Regions from separate parts of the Homo sapiens genome. Here region 1 is linked to region 2. Evidence: promoter capture Hi-C in 16 types of primary human blood cells and fetal thymus (Javierre and others, 2016). All regions are on one chromosome and are shown on one strand. The core of a region is centred on a gene start or on the middle of the fragment in contact, and the rest is flanking DNA. Distances in the headings are between cores, read along the strand shown.

Evidence for each region. The method cuts DNA at HindIII sites, captures the fragments that hold promoters and counts their contacts. A CHiCAGO score of 5 or more calls a contact.
Region 1: a fragment that was not itself captured here is called in contact with the fragment with the promoter of PKD1L1 in region 2 in 1 of 17 cell types (naive B cells); the score reaches 8.9 in naive B cells.

Annotation. Positions count from the first base shown.
Region 1 is chr7:51,158,944-51,164,994 of GRCh38, reverse strand. The region is part of intron 5 of COBL (cordon-bleu WH2 repeat protein); the gene reads left to right. Among named protein-coding and RNA genes, the nearest start is that of COBL, 150 kb to the left of the region's middle. RefSeq lists an enhancer at 3,669-3,963. The HindIII fragment of the contact is 1,092 bases long and covers 4,089-5,180 here.
Region 2 is chr7:47,945,312-47,950,787 of GRCh38, reverse strand. PKD1L1 (polycystin 1 like 1, transient receptor potential channel interacting) reads left to right here and starts at 2,322. Exons shown (of 57, transcript NM_138295.5): 1 at 2,322-2,391. The coding sequence starts at 2,348. The HindIII fragment of the contact is 5,981 bases long and covers 1-2,427 here.

The DNA.
Region 1 (6,051 bases), core at 3,385-5,884, 3.2 Mb before region 2:
TAACCATTGTATGTTATTTCGTTGGAAGTTACCATGAGGCTTGCAAATACTATTTTAGAACATAACGCTGCATAAACAAATAAGCAAAAAGAAAATGAATAAAAATTATGCTTTAACTTCATCTCCCCACTTTTTTACTTTTCGTTGTTTCTATTTATATCTTATTGTACTGTCTATGTCTTTAAAAGTTGCTGTAGTTATCATTTTTGATTGATTCATTGTTTAGTCTTTCTACTTAGGATAAGAGTAGTTTATACACCATAGTTACAGTGTTATCATATTCTGTGTTTTTCTGTGTTCTTACTATTACCCGTGAGTTTTGTACCTTCAAGTAATTACTTATTGCTCATTAATGTCTGTTTTTTTCTGATTAAAGTATTCCCTTTAGCATTTCTTGTAGGTCAGATTTGAGAAATTCCCCAGCTTTTGTTTGAGGGAAGTCTTTATTTCTCCTTTATGTCCGAAGGATATTTTCGCCGAATATACTATTCTAGGGTAAAAGTATTTTTTCATTCAGAACTTTAAATATGTTATGTCACTCTCTCCTGGCCTGTAAGGTTTTCCCTTGAAAAGTCTGCTGCCAGACATATTGTAGCTTCATTGTATATTATTCCTTTTCTCTTCCTGCTTTTAGGATCCTTTCTTTATCCTTGACTTTTGGGAGTTTCATTAGTAACTGCCTTGCAGTAGTATTTGGGTTAAATCTACTTGGTATTCTATTACCTTCTTTGGATATCGGTAACTTTCTCTAGGTTTAAGATGTTCTCTGATATTATCCTTTTCAATACATTGATAAATTTGACCTCAGAGAAAATATTAATAAATTTGATTTTAGGGAAAACAAACAAAAAACCCTCTTGAATGACAAAAAAGAGAAAATGAAAATAAATAAAGGAAAGAGATAAAACTCTTACTCATAATGAGAAATGTAAATGAACTACAGTGAACACTGTTCATCACCTATGGGATTGGCAAAAGCCCAAAAGTTTGTTACTACACCTTTTTCATTAAACTGTGGGGCCCTTAAATGCATTGCTGAGCAAAATGCAAAGTGCTAGCTTTATGGTGGTGAATTTGGCAGTATCTAGCCAAATTACACATACATTTAGTTTTTGACACAGAAATCCTAGTTTTAGAAATCTACCCTGAAGACTCACTGGCAAAAATCTAAAATGATTCATGTGTAAGGCTGTTTATTGTGGCATTATTTGTAACAACAGGAGATGAAAGCAATGTTCATGCCCATCAGGAGGGGATTGGTAGATGAAGCTATGGTACATGAAGATGTGGTATAGCTACATGATTGAATACTATGAATCTGTGAAAGAAGGAAGAAGTTTGTTATATTATTGATATGAGGTGTTTTCTGGGATATATTTTTTCCACTTTTAAAAATCAAGGGTGACTTTTCCTATGAATCAAAGTAATAAGGCTTCAATGTGATAGATTAATATTAACTCATAAATAAGAATATACTGGGTTTCAAGCCCTAGGGCAGTACAGCACTTAAAATAATAATGGCTCCCAGTGATGACCATGCCTGCTGCTTCAGTCCTGTCTGTTCTAGGCACTGTGCTTAGTTGTGTGGGCTTATTTGATCTTCCTTATATAGACACAGAAAATATCCAAATGCCAGAGGTGAATTGGTTGATCAGATTTATTGATATCTACTTATGTTGGCTATGATGCTCTCTTCAATTAAGGATGTTAGTGACGTAATATTTCTGAAGAGCACTCTGCCGTTGTTTTTACATATTTTTTCCACGCCATTGATCCTAGTCTGCACATTTTGATGCCAGTGCTTGCTTAATCTTACCAGAAGAGGGGATCAAACGGAGGCATGAGTCACATCATCCTTTTGCTGCTTTGAATGTCCTCTATTTTAAGGGATTTTGCAGCTCTTCCTTCCCTTAGTTCACTGTCTGGGCTGTGAGAGGCACTCCTTTTGTGTATATCCGGTGATAAAATGTAACACTGATCCATCTCCTTGTGAATTCCTTCCTTCCTTAGCTTAGCGCTTAGCTTAGCACTTCTTGCTTTACAGGAAACATTGCAGTGAGTATTGGCTTTATTGGTGCTCCCCCTGCTGGCTGTTTCTATGTCTTTGTGCAAACAGGGTAACAGCTTCAGCTTCAAGTCATAGTGAATCTCTGATGAGCACAGAGGCTTAGCCTGGCGGAGGCCGAGGGCAAGCCTACATCATTGGGGTGTTAAAGCCGAGCTTTCAATTCTGGCCCAGCATGCAGAACCTATCTTCACTTTCCTCATCTGCTAAACTGCCCACTTTGTAGGTTCATTGTAGCGATTAGAAATTATATAGCTCATCTGACACTCATAGGAAATGTTCTGAAATGGTGAGTAAACCTGACCGGAGCCCTCCAGAAAGTTTGCAGATACTATTATGTATTATTTTTTCTTGAGAAAATGTAAGTGGTTTATTATGTCTGTAACTTGAAGACTCTATGAGAATAGATTTGCATTAAAAAAATCCTAATGTAGATGGTCAAAGAAATTTGATCTTCTCTGGAAAAGTTAGTGAATTTCTTAGAAACTGAAGTTTACTCTGTTCCAAGATATATCTTCACTGTCTTAATCAAAGGGCGCTTGAATCATAGCAAATATTCTCATCTTTCAACTAACTTTAAGTAGTTTTCCTGGAATTTTACATTTTCCAGAAAACACTCCTTTCTGTATCTGTGAAAGAAAGTGTGCCTCAGGCTGTAAACTGGGCTGCACTGGACACCTGCGGGGGACTCTGGCTTAGTGGGGACATGGTCAGTATTGATTTTCCTCAAACTCAGCCTGTGTAGCTGTGAAAGCATGGAACAGATTACACTGCAGTTAACGTCATCCCACACATCTGGACTCCAAGACACGGGGAGGTCACATAGTCAGTTGTGGATGCCGGTTAATGATAAGGTGTGAGTTAGCTCTCGGGTCTCTGTTTCCTAAGTCACACAAACAGCAGTGATAAACTGTGCTAACGGATGAGACAAGGTACCTGAGTTAATTTGCAATTCAGCACACAAAAATGGAAAAGAAATTATTATATCAGTCTGATAAAGTGCAAATGTTCTGATGTAGGAGTAAAGTGACGTGGGTTCTAATCCTGGTTCTGTTATTCACCAGGACAACAGACCAGTCATTAGCAGGCCTTTCTCTGAAGAATGAACTTTTGAAAGTAACTGGCCTTTTATGGGCCCTGCTTCTTGGTTTCTTGGTTTTTTAAAAAATCCAAATTCTATAAATTTGACCAATCTAAAGGTATTACTACATGCTTCATCAGATATCTCTGCATTTCTTGATACCATAAAGTTAAAGTTCTTCTGGTAAAAGAGTTAAAAATCACTGCCTTATAAAACAAGCAAACAACAAAATAAACCTGTCTGGAGACATTTTGTCCATTTGCCCTGTTCAGGCAGTGACAGAAATAGTGTCATTATAGTGTTTCACAGATGGACGGAGCTTACATTTGAAGTGATTTCCATAGCAAAAGCCCTAAAAAAGTTTCCAGAATTCGTGTTGAGTGGCGTTGTTTCTGATGGAAGCCTCTGCAGTATTGGAGGCAGGCATTTACAGGGAAGCCCACCAGTAAAATAAAATTTTCAGAAAAAGTTATTAAAAGCTACATTTTAAAGGAAACTCCATAATTTCAGCTGCCCTGAGTCCTATGCTTACAGAGAGCCTGCATTTCCACCCAGCTGATCCGGGTCTCCAGGGGGATTACAGAGAACTTGCAAATGCGGCCCAAAGCATGTGTGGAGCTGTGCTGCCACAGGGTGGCAGTGTTGTCACACACACAGCAAATCCCCTCGCGAGCTTTTCTGGGCCTGGAAAAGCTCAAATCTGTTCTGTTTTTGGAGTGTTCATCAGTTGAGAACAGGAAAATGTGTTCCGAGGGCTGAGCCACGTGTTTATGAGGTAGAACTAATTTTTGTTATACATCAGTTGTGTAGAGATATTTTTAAAATTTAGCTTGTACCTTTAGAAAATGCTTTATAAGGCAGAGGTTGCAGTGAGCCTCGATTGCGCCACTGCACTCCAGCCTGGGCGACAGAGTGAGACTCCATCTCAAAAAAAAAAAAGCTTTATATTCAAAACAAAATAAATTGCATATGGCAGGTTTTAAGAGTAGAGTAGGAGAATCATGTCCAGTGCCTACAAGTCTAACAGAGTTTCTTGTTCCTTGTTCTCCTGAGCCTTTCTCAGTATCTGCATAGTTCTTTTAAAGGTTGTATGATCTTCTGTGTAAAGGGAAAAGCGTGGCTTTTGTTTTTGTTTGCTTGAATTTGGATTCTGAATTATTCACATACAGTTTGTGACCTCTTAGAGCCTTGTCTTCCCGTGTGTACCGTGAGCTCATAATCACCAGCACCCAGCATTCTTATGAGGATTAAATGAGTGCCAAGCACAGGAAGGAGCTCACAGCTAGCACTCGATGAAGGTTGGCTCGGCCCTGTTGCTCATTGCTTCTTTTATTCTGGTATAAGTAATGTGAAAGTCACTTTATCCCAAAAGCCTTTTTTCATTTGGGAGGTTTTCTTTATGAAAGACACCTGCAAATGTATTCGTGAATCAAAGGATATGACAACTTTATGGCATTACTGCATTGTTTCCCTTGATGACTGTGTCATCAACAACAAATAACAATATGTTATTATGGCCACTCAACTCTCCATTTCTGATTCAGAGCCTTGTGTATATAAAACTCCTATCAACTATTGGAAAGTAAATAGACCTTAATGTGTAATCTAGAAAAATCATTCTAAGGTTCTTTCCATACCTATTTGACCATTAAAAATAGGCCAGACATGGTGGCTCATGCCTGTAATCCCAGCACTTTGGGAGGCCGAGGTGGGTGGATCACCTGAGGTCAGGAGTTTGAGACCAGCCTGACCAATATGGCAAAACCCCATCTGTACTAAAAATACAAAATTAGCTGGACGTGGTGGCAGGTGTCTGTAGTCCCAGCTACTCAGGAGGCTGAGGCAGGAGAATCACTTGAACTCGGGAGGCGGAGGTTGTAGTGAGCTGAGATCGTGCCATTGCACTCCAGCCTGGGCAACAATAGTGAAACTGTCTCAAAACAACAACAAAAAAATAGTTTTAAAAATATTCTTATCATATGATCTCTAATGCAAACCTGGAACCCATCAGAGGAGGGTTTTGGTTTTAAAGCTTTGATGAATTTTTTTCCCAGAGTGTTCGATTCTTACAATGGGAGTAGTATACACATAGATCCTGAAGAGTTGATAAACAGGGCCTAATGCCAGTACCAGTTCTCGGAGGGAAAAAAATAAATGTAGATTTTTCACCACTTGGCTGAAAATGTGATGTTTGTAAGGATACTGAGGTAGAAAACGTCCCTTTCAAATACTGGTTTTCCGTATGTTCCCCTAAAACATGACTATTATTTCCACTGTCTATGTTTCCTTTCTGGCCTTCCCCTGCTCTTTGTCAGACAAGTATAAAACAAGAATCTCACTTGCCTGCACATGGATTTAAGTTGCTTCAGAGACCAGAGAAGGTGAGAAGCAGAGCTCTCTGTCCCTCGGTATCCTTTCCTGTCTAGGAGATGACATCTCCGCCATCACAGTGCCTCGGGCCAGAACCCTGGGGTCCTCTTTGCCCCCTTTGCTCTCCCACTCCACCTGCAACCCTCATAGCGTCTGTCGCCTTCAAGATACATCTAGGATCTCACCACTTCACACAGCCTGGCCTTGTCACCTGGCCCAGGCCTCCTGGCGGCTCCACTTCCCAGCACCTGTGGTCTCCAAAGCCTCCTCCCCACCTCCCTGCTTTGCGCCCTGCGGTTTCACGCGGCATCCAGAGCGCAGCGCGCGCGGCCGCCAGGTGCGCGCGGCCGGGGGCTGCAGAGAGCCTGCAACGCCGCCCCCGCTGCCCTCCTCCAAGCTCCTGGCCAGCTCTTCGTGTGTCTTGATCCAGGTTCTTAAAAAAAGGAAGTGGACTATAGACAGGGTGTCCCACACACTGGCAGTCCCAGGGTCGGCCCTTGGGGCTGCTGTTTCTCAGCTCGCCTCCCTGCCCACA
Region 2 (5,476 bases), core at 1,073-3,572:
TAGTTTGTATCTTGGCTACTGAGCCCTTGAAATATGGCTAATGATGGAGAAGCTAAAGCTAATTCTTTTTTTTTTTTTGAGACAAGAGTTTCGCTCATTGCCCAGGCTGGAGTGCAATGGCACGAAGTTGGCTCACCACAACCTCTGCCTCCCCGGTTCAAGCGATTCTCCTGCCTCAGCCTCCTGGATAGCTGGGATTACAGGCGTGCATCACCACACCTGGCTAATTTTTTTGTATTTTTAGTAGAGACGGGGTTTCTCCAGCTAATTCTTAATTCTATTTAATTGTAAGTAACTTAAGCTCCAGTAGCTGAGAGTGGCTATGAGAGTGGCTATGAGAGTGCCTCCCACGTAGGGCAGTGCAGGCATATTTCTTCCCTCAATTATGTCACTTTCTTTGCTCCTCCTCATTTCCTGGCATCTTTGGTTAGCACTGCTGGCTTCAAAAACATCACAAACTTTAAATGTAGGCCCTGTTCTCAGGATGTCCAGCCCCACAAGGAAGGAACAGGCAGCAGCAAGGTCAGAGCATCCAGGTGTGCGTGTGGGTATGGATGCCAGCCCAGCAGGCAGGGTTGCACAGGTGTCTTTACCCAGTGGACTCTGTTTAGATTTGACAGGAAGGTGTCAGAGCAAATCACAGGGGCTTCAGAAAGAAGGGATTTTGTTCGTTTACAAACTGCAGTTTGCAGTTTATCCTTTTCTTGGTCACAGGCGCATTTGAAAGTGTATTGCTAATGAAATTGGAAAGTATGCATTTCCCCCAAATCTGAGATTTACTCACAACAAGCACAGTGGGGACAAAGCCAGAGGCACTGACAAGGCAGTGTGAGAAGAGCAGAGGTGGCAGCAGGCCCCAGGAGACAGGTGTGTTAGGTCAACAGCAGGCCCCTTAACCCACCACAGGGCTCTGGTTACTCACCTCATTGGCAGCAAAGTTCCAGAAAACACAGGATCCAAGGCCGGACACCCGTAGCTTGGTTCATCATTGTTCAAGGGGTCTGTGTTCCCATCTGAGAAAGAGCTTGTGCCTGAAAACGTTCCCACTCTTCTTGGTATCACTCTCTTCAGAGTGGAGAGAAAAAATATCTAGTGTTCTGAGTAAAACATTAAGTTTTCTAAAATCTCTGAAGGTTTAAATGTTGGTATAAAGAACTAAGACAACTAACAAGTGCTTTAAAAATATAAGAGAAAATGTTTCGTAATGGAGAGAACTCAGTCTGACCCGCCAGTTGCAAACAAGGAGAGGTGCAGGAGGTTCGGAACCAGATCATTCCTAGGTTCTGCCGTAAGACAGAGTGCGCCTAGTGTGTGCCTTGCCAGCCTTCCTTAGGAATGCTCTTCTGCTCTTGTGGAAGGTATCCTGTTCCCCAGTGCAGTTGTGGACAGTTACAGCTTTTTTTTTTTTTTTTTTTTTTTGAGACAGAGCCTCGCTCTGTTGCCCAGGCTGGAGTGTGGTGGCACGATCTCGGCTCACTGCAACCTCCGCCTCTCGGTTTCGAGCAATTCTCCTGCCTCAGCCTCCCGAGTAGCTGGGACTACAGGTGCGTGCCACCATGCCTGGCTAATTTTTGTATTTTTAGTAGAGACGGGGTTTCACTATGCTGGCCAGGCTGGTCTCGAGCTCCTGACCTCGTGATCCGCCCACCTCGACCTCCCAAAGTGTTGGGATTATAGGCGTGAGCCACCGCGCCCAGCCAACAGTTACAGCTTTTTATTCTCAGACTTCTCTCAGCTTCCATGTACAGTCTCTCCCTTGAGTAGTGATCTGTTTCAGGCAGCCACAAAGATCCCTACCTAAAACACACTTTTGTTTTGTTTTGTTTTGTTTCATTTTGTTTTTGAGGCAGAGTCTCACTCTATTGCACAGTGGTGCAATCTCGTCTCACTGCAACCTCCACCTCCTAGGTTCAAGCAATTCTCTCGCCTGAGCCTCCTGGGTAACTGGGATTACAGATGTGTGCCACCACACTTGGCTATTTTTGTATTTTTAGTAGAGACGGGGTTTCACCATATTGGCCAGGCTGGTCTCAAACTTCTGGCCTCAAGTGATCCACCCACCTTGGCCTCCCAAATTGCTGGGATTACAGACATGAGCCACCACGTCTGTCAAAAGCACACTTCTTAGGAAGGAATTTGTCTGACAGTGTTAGGAAAACAAAAGCTGTTTCTGCTTGGGAAAATGTTACTGGAGTTTGGATTTTTCCCTCTGTGTTTGATGTGTGTCCTGATAAGAGGTCACAAGTACAGAAGCTGGAAGCATTAAGCTCTATTTCTTTGTCTTCCAGAGGATGTAGGAAGAAGCTGGTCTGCTGACTGTCATACTTGTGACCAGCTTGCACAGGACATGGCCGAGGAGGCAGCCCAGAACATTTCTGATGACCAGGAAAGGTGAGTTATCACTGTTCTCAGAGGGTTTGGTAAGCTTGATTTTAAAGTATGCATTCAGAAATTTTCTTTCAAAAGTCATCACCTCTAGGATGTGGGCTCACTCTGGCACGAGTGGAGGCCCTGTACCAGGAGGGTGCATTTGGCCGGCGGGGTCAGTTCAGAGGTTGGAGTTGGTGTTGAGAATGGAGTTTTTTCCTGAAGGCTTTTGAGAAGACTCCTCCAAGCGGATGCCTTCAGCCATGAGAAGTGCTGATTGCTCTTCCTGCAAATGCAGGATACCTTCCAAGTTCGAGGACTTTCTGCTGCCTGGTAGTAGACAAAGTTAAGCTATCTGCTTGTCTGCTAGGTCCCTTGCATGGAGACCAGGAGAAACCTGGCACAGGAAGAGATCATGGGGTCTTGGCCCAGGGGTCTTATTTCTTTTTTTTTGAGACGGAGTCTCTCTCTGTTGCCCAGGCTCGAGTGCAGAGGTGCGATCTTGGCTCACTGCAAGCTCTGCCTCCTGGGTTCATGCCATTTATCCTGCCTCAGCCTCCCAAGTAGCTGGGACCACAGGCGCCCACCACCACGCCCGACTAATTTTTTGTATTTTTAGTAGAGACGGGGTTTCACTGTGTTAGCCAGGATGGTCTCGATCTCCTGACCTTGTGATCTGCCCGCCTTGGCCTCCCAAAGTACTGGGATTACAGGCATAAGCCACCGCACCCAGCCTCCATGGGTCTTATTTCTAAACCCTCTTCCCCATGCTCTGTGCGCGCCAGCACCCATGTGTTGTTGAGGCTGGGCAGCCTGTGTGCTCTGCTGTTGACTGTCTCATGGCAGTGTGACATGGTGCAAACCTCCATGCCCCCTTTCCTGGGCGTGAGGCCAGCAAGGTGACCTGCCTGTGGGATGTGGTAAGGACCCAGGTGGGTCACCGCTGTCCCCTGGCCTGGCATGATGGGAGCCTGTGCCTGCAGATCTTGCCCAGTGGGGTACCCCGCCACTGCAGGTCACTTTACCTCCTCACCCCCAGATTTCTCATCCTGAAAATCTGAGTACCCCTGTTGTCACATCTGTAAACTCCAGAGGGTCGTTATAAAAATCAGTATCCTTGATGAATGCTTGCTGTCAGCATTTCTGCCTTTGTTAGCTTACTGTCTTTGTGCCATCACCATCATTTTATCAAAGAAACCCAAAGCAAACCAGGATGAGAAAATGAGGCTGCACGTGTTGACGGGGTTGGTCACATTCATGCTTGGAAATTTCTTTGCCTTATGTCACTCACTGCTGCCAAGCATTGTCTGATTTTGGCTACAATTTTTTCCCTTATTTTTTCTGGTTACCTCATGTTTCTTTTATTCCAAATGCCCATGCTCCTGCAGACTCCCAGAGCCTTGATGTTGGCCCAATTTGACCTTCACTCTTATCAGTCAGGGAATTGCAAGGAATTACCCCTTTGCCCTTAGAAAGGAAAGAAAAGCTGAGGAGCGGAAGTCGCTGACTTGATGTTTTTTCCCCTGTATATTTATACATCTTGTACTTGCAGACCAACTAGTTCATGCACGCACTAGCCATTGTAATTGGTGTCGAGGCCCCATTTCTGAAGTCATAGCCTTTTGGGGTTTCCTGAGTCACCTAAAGCAAGACAGTGACTGATCTTGTTCATAGAAACAGAAGAGGTTTCTTGACTCTCCTGTAGCCCTCATTTCATGGAGTTAGGCCTGTAGTGTCTGTGTGTGTGTGTGTGGTATAGGACATGTGTGTGGGTGGTGTGGTGTGTGGTCTGTGTGTAGTGTGTGGTGTATGTGTGGTATGGTATGAGTGGGGTATGGTGTGTGTGTGATACATGGTGTGTGCTGTGTGATGTGTGTGTAATGTGTTGGTGTGTGTGTGGTGTTTGTGTGTATGGTGTGTTTGTGTGGTGCGTGGTGTGTGGTGTGTGCGATGTGTGTGTGGTGGGTGGGTATGTGCTGTGTGGTGTGTGTATATTGTGTGTGATGCTGTGTGGTGTGTTTGTGTGGTGTGAGTGTGGTGTGGTGTGAGTGTGTGGTGTGTGTTTGTGTGGTAGGTATTTGTCCTAATGCTCTCCCTCCCCTTGCCCCCCAGCCCCTGACAGGCCCCGAAAAACACTCACTCTTAAGGGATTCTAAGAGATCTGTCATGTAATTCAAACAAATGGCTCGACTAGTTCCCTTGAGGCACATGATGCCTCAGAGACTGTGTTTGAGCCATCAGTATCATCCTGTTCCCCGACAGTCACAGTTAACTAAGAGGAAGCCAGGTACCTCTGTGAAAATGGTGCTGATTCTGTGCCAGGGCCTGGGGACCTGCCTCCTCACAACACCAGGAAAAAGAGCCTCCCTTGTATTTAAATTATCTCCCCCTTCCATTTTTTTTATTTGAAAAGACCTCTGAAATCTCAAGGAAAATTAGCTTTGCAGCACTATCCTTGGCGCCTCTGTGAGTGGAGGACACACCTGTTGGGGATGTGTTTCTCACCTTCTGAGACAGAAAATTACTTCTCAAGGGCCAACTATGTCCCAGGAACCAGGGCTGGTGTTTTCTGTGTGTAGCACTTGGAAGTTATCCTGTTGTGGGGGTGTCTGGGAGGGTCTCGGAACTTGGTGGGTGCCAGGGCTATCTAACCTTGTGTGGGCCCAGAGTGGTGGGCAGTCTCACAGCTGTGGACTGTGGGGCGCACGTGGTGGACAGAGGTTAGGTTCGTCCTTTCCTTAATTTTATTTGCCCGCTAGATCATTGCAGAAATCCTCTAAGTCTGATCTGGTCTGGTCTGTATGATTCCAAAGTTGTCCCCTTTTCTATTATTGTTATTTTTTATTTTTTCATTTCTCTGGCCTTTGGAAGACAAGCATAGTTGAGAGTAGGCAAGGAAATCCTTGGAATTATTCAACAGTTTGAGGCCTTTGACCTAGTGACCATCTTCATCTTCAAAATAACAGCTTTTCACCTCCCTGCACACTTTCCTCAACTATAAATATTGTCCTCGTCTGCCCTCTGGTGGCGGCTTCTTGGGCATCAAGAACCAGGCTTGTAAAAATTGGGTGAAACTATCCAGTTTTATCTTTGTAGAAACCTTGCTTAA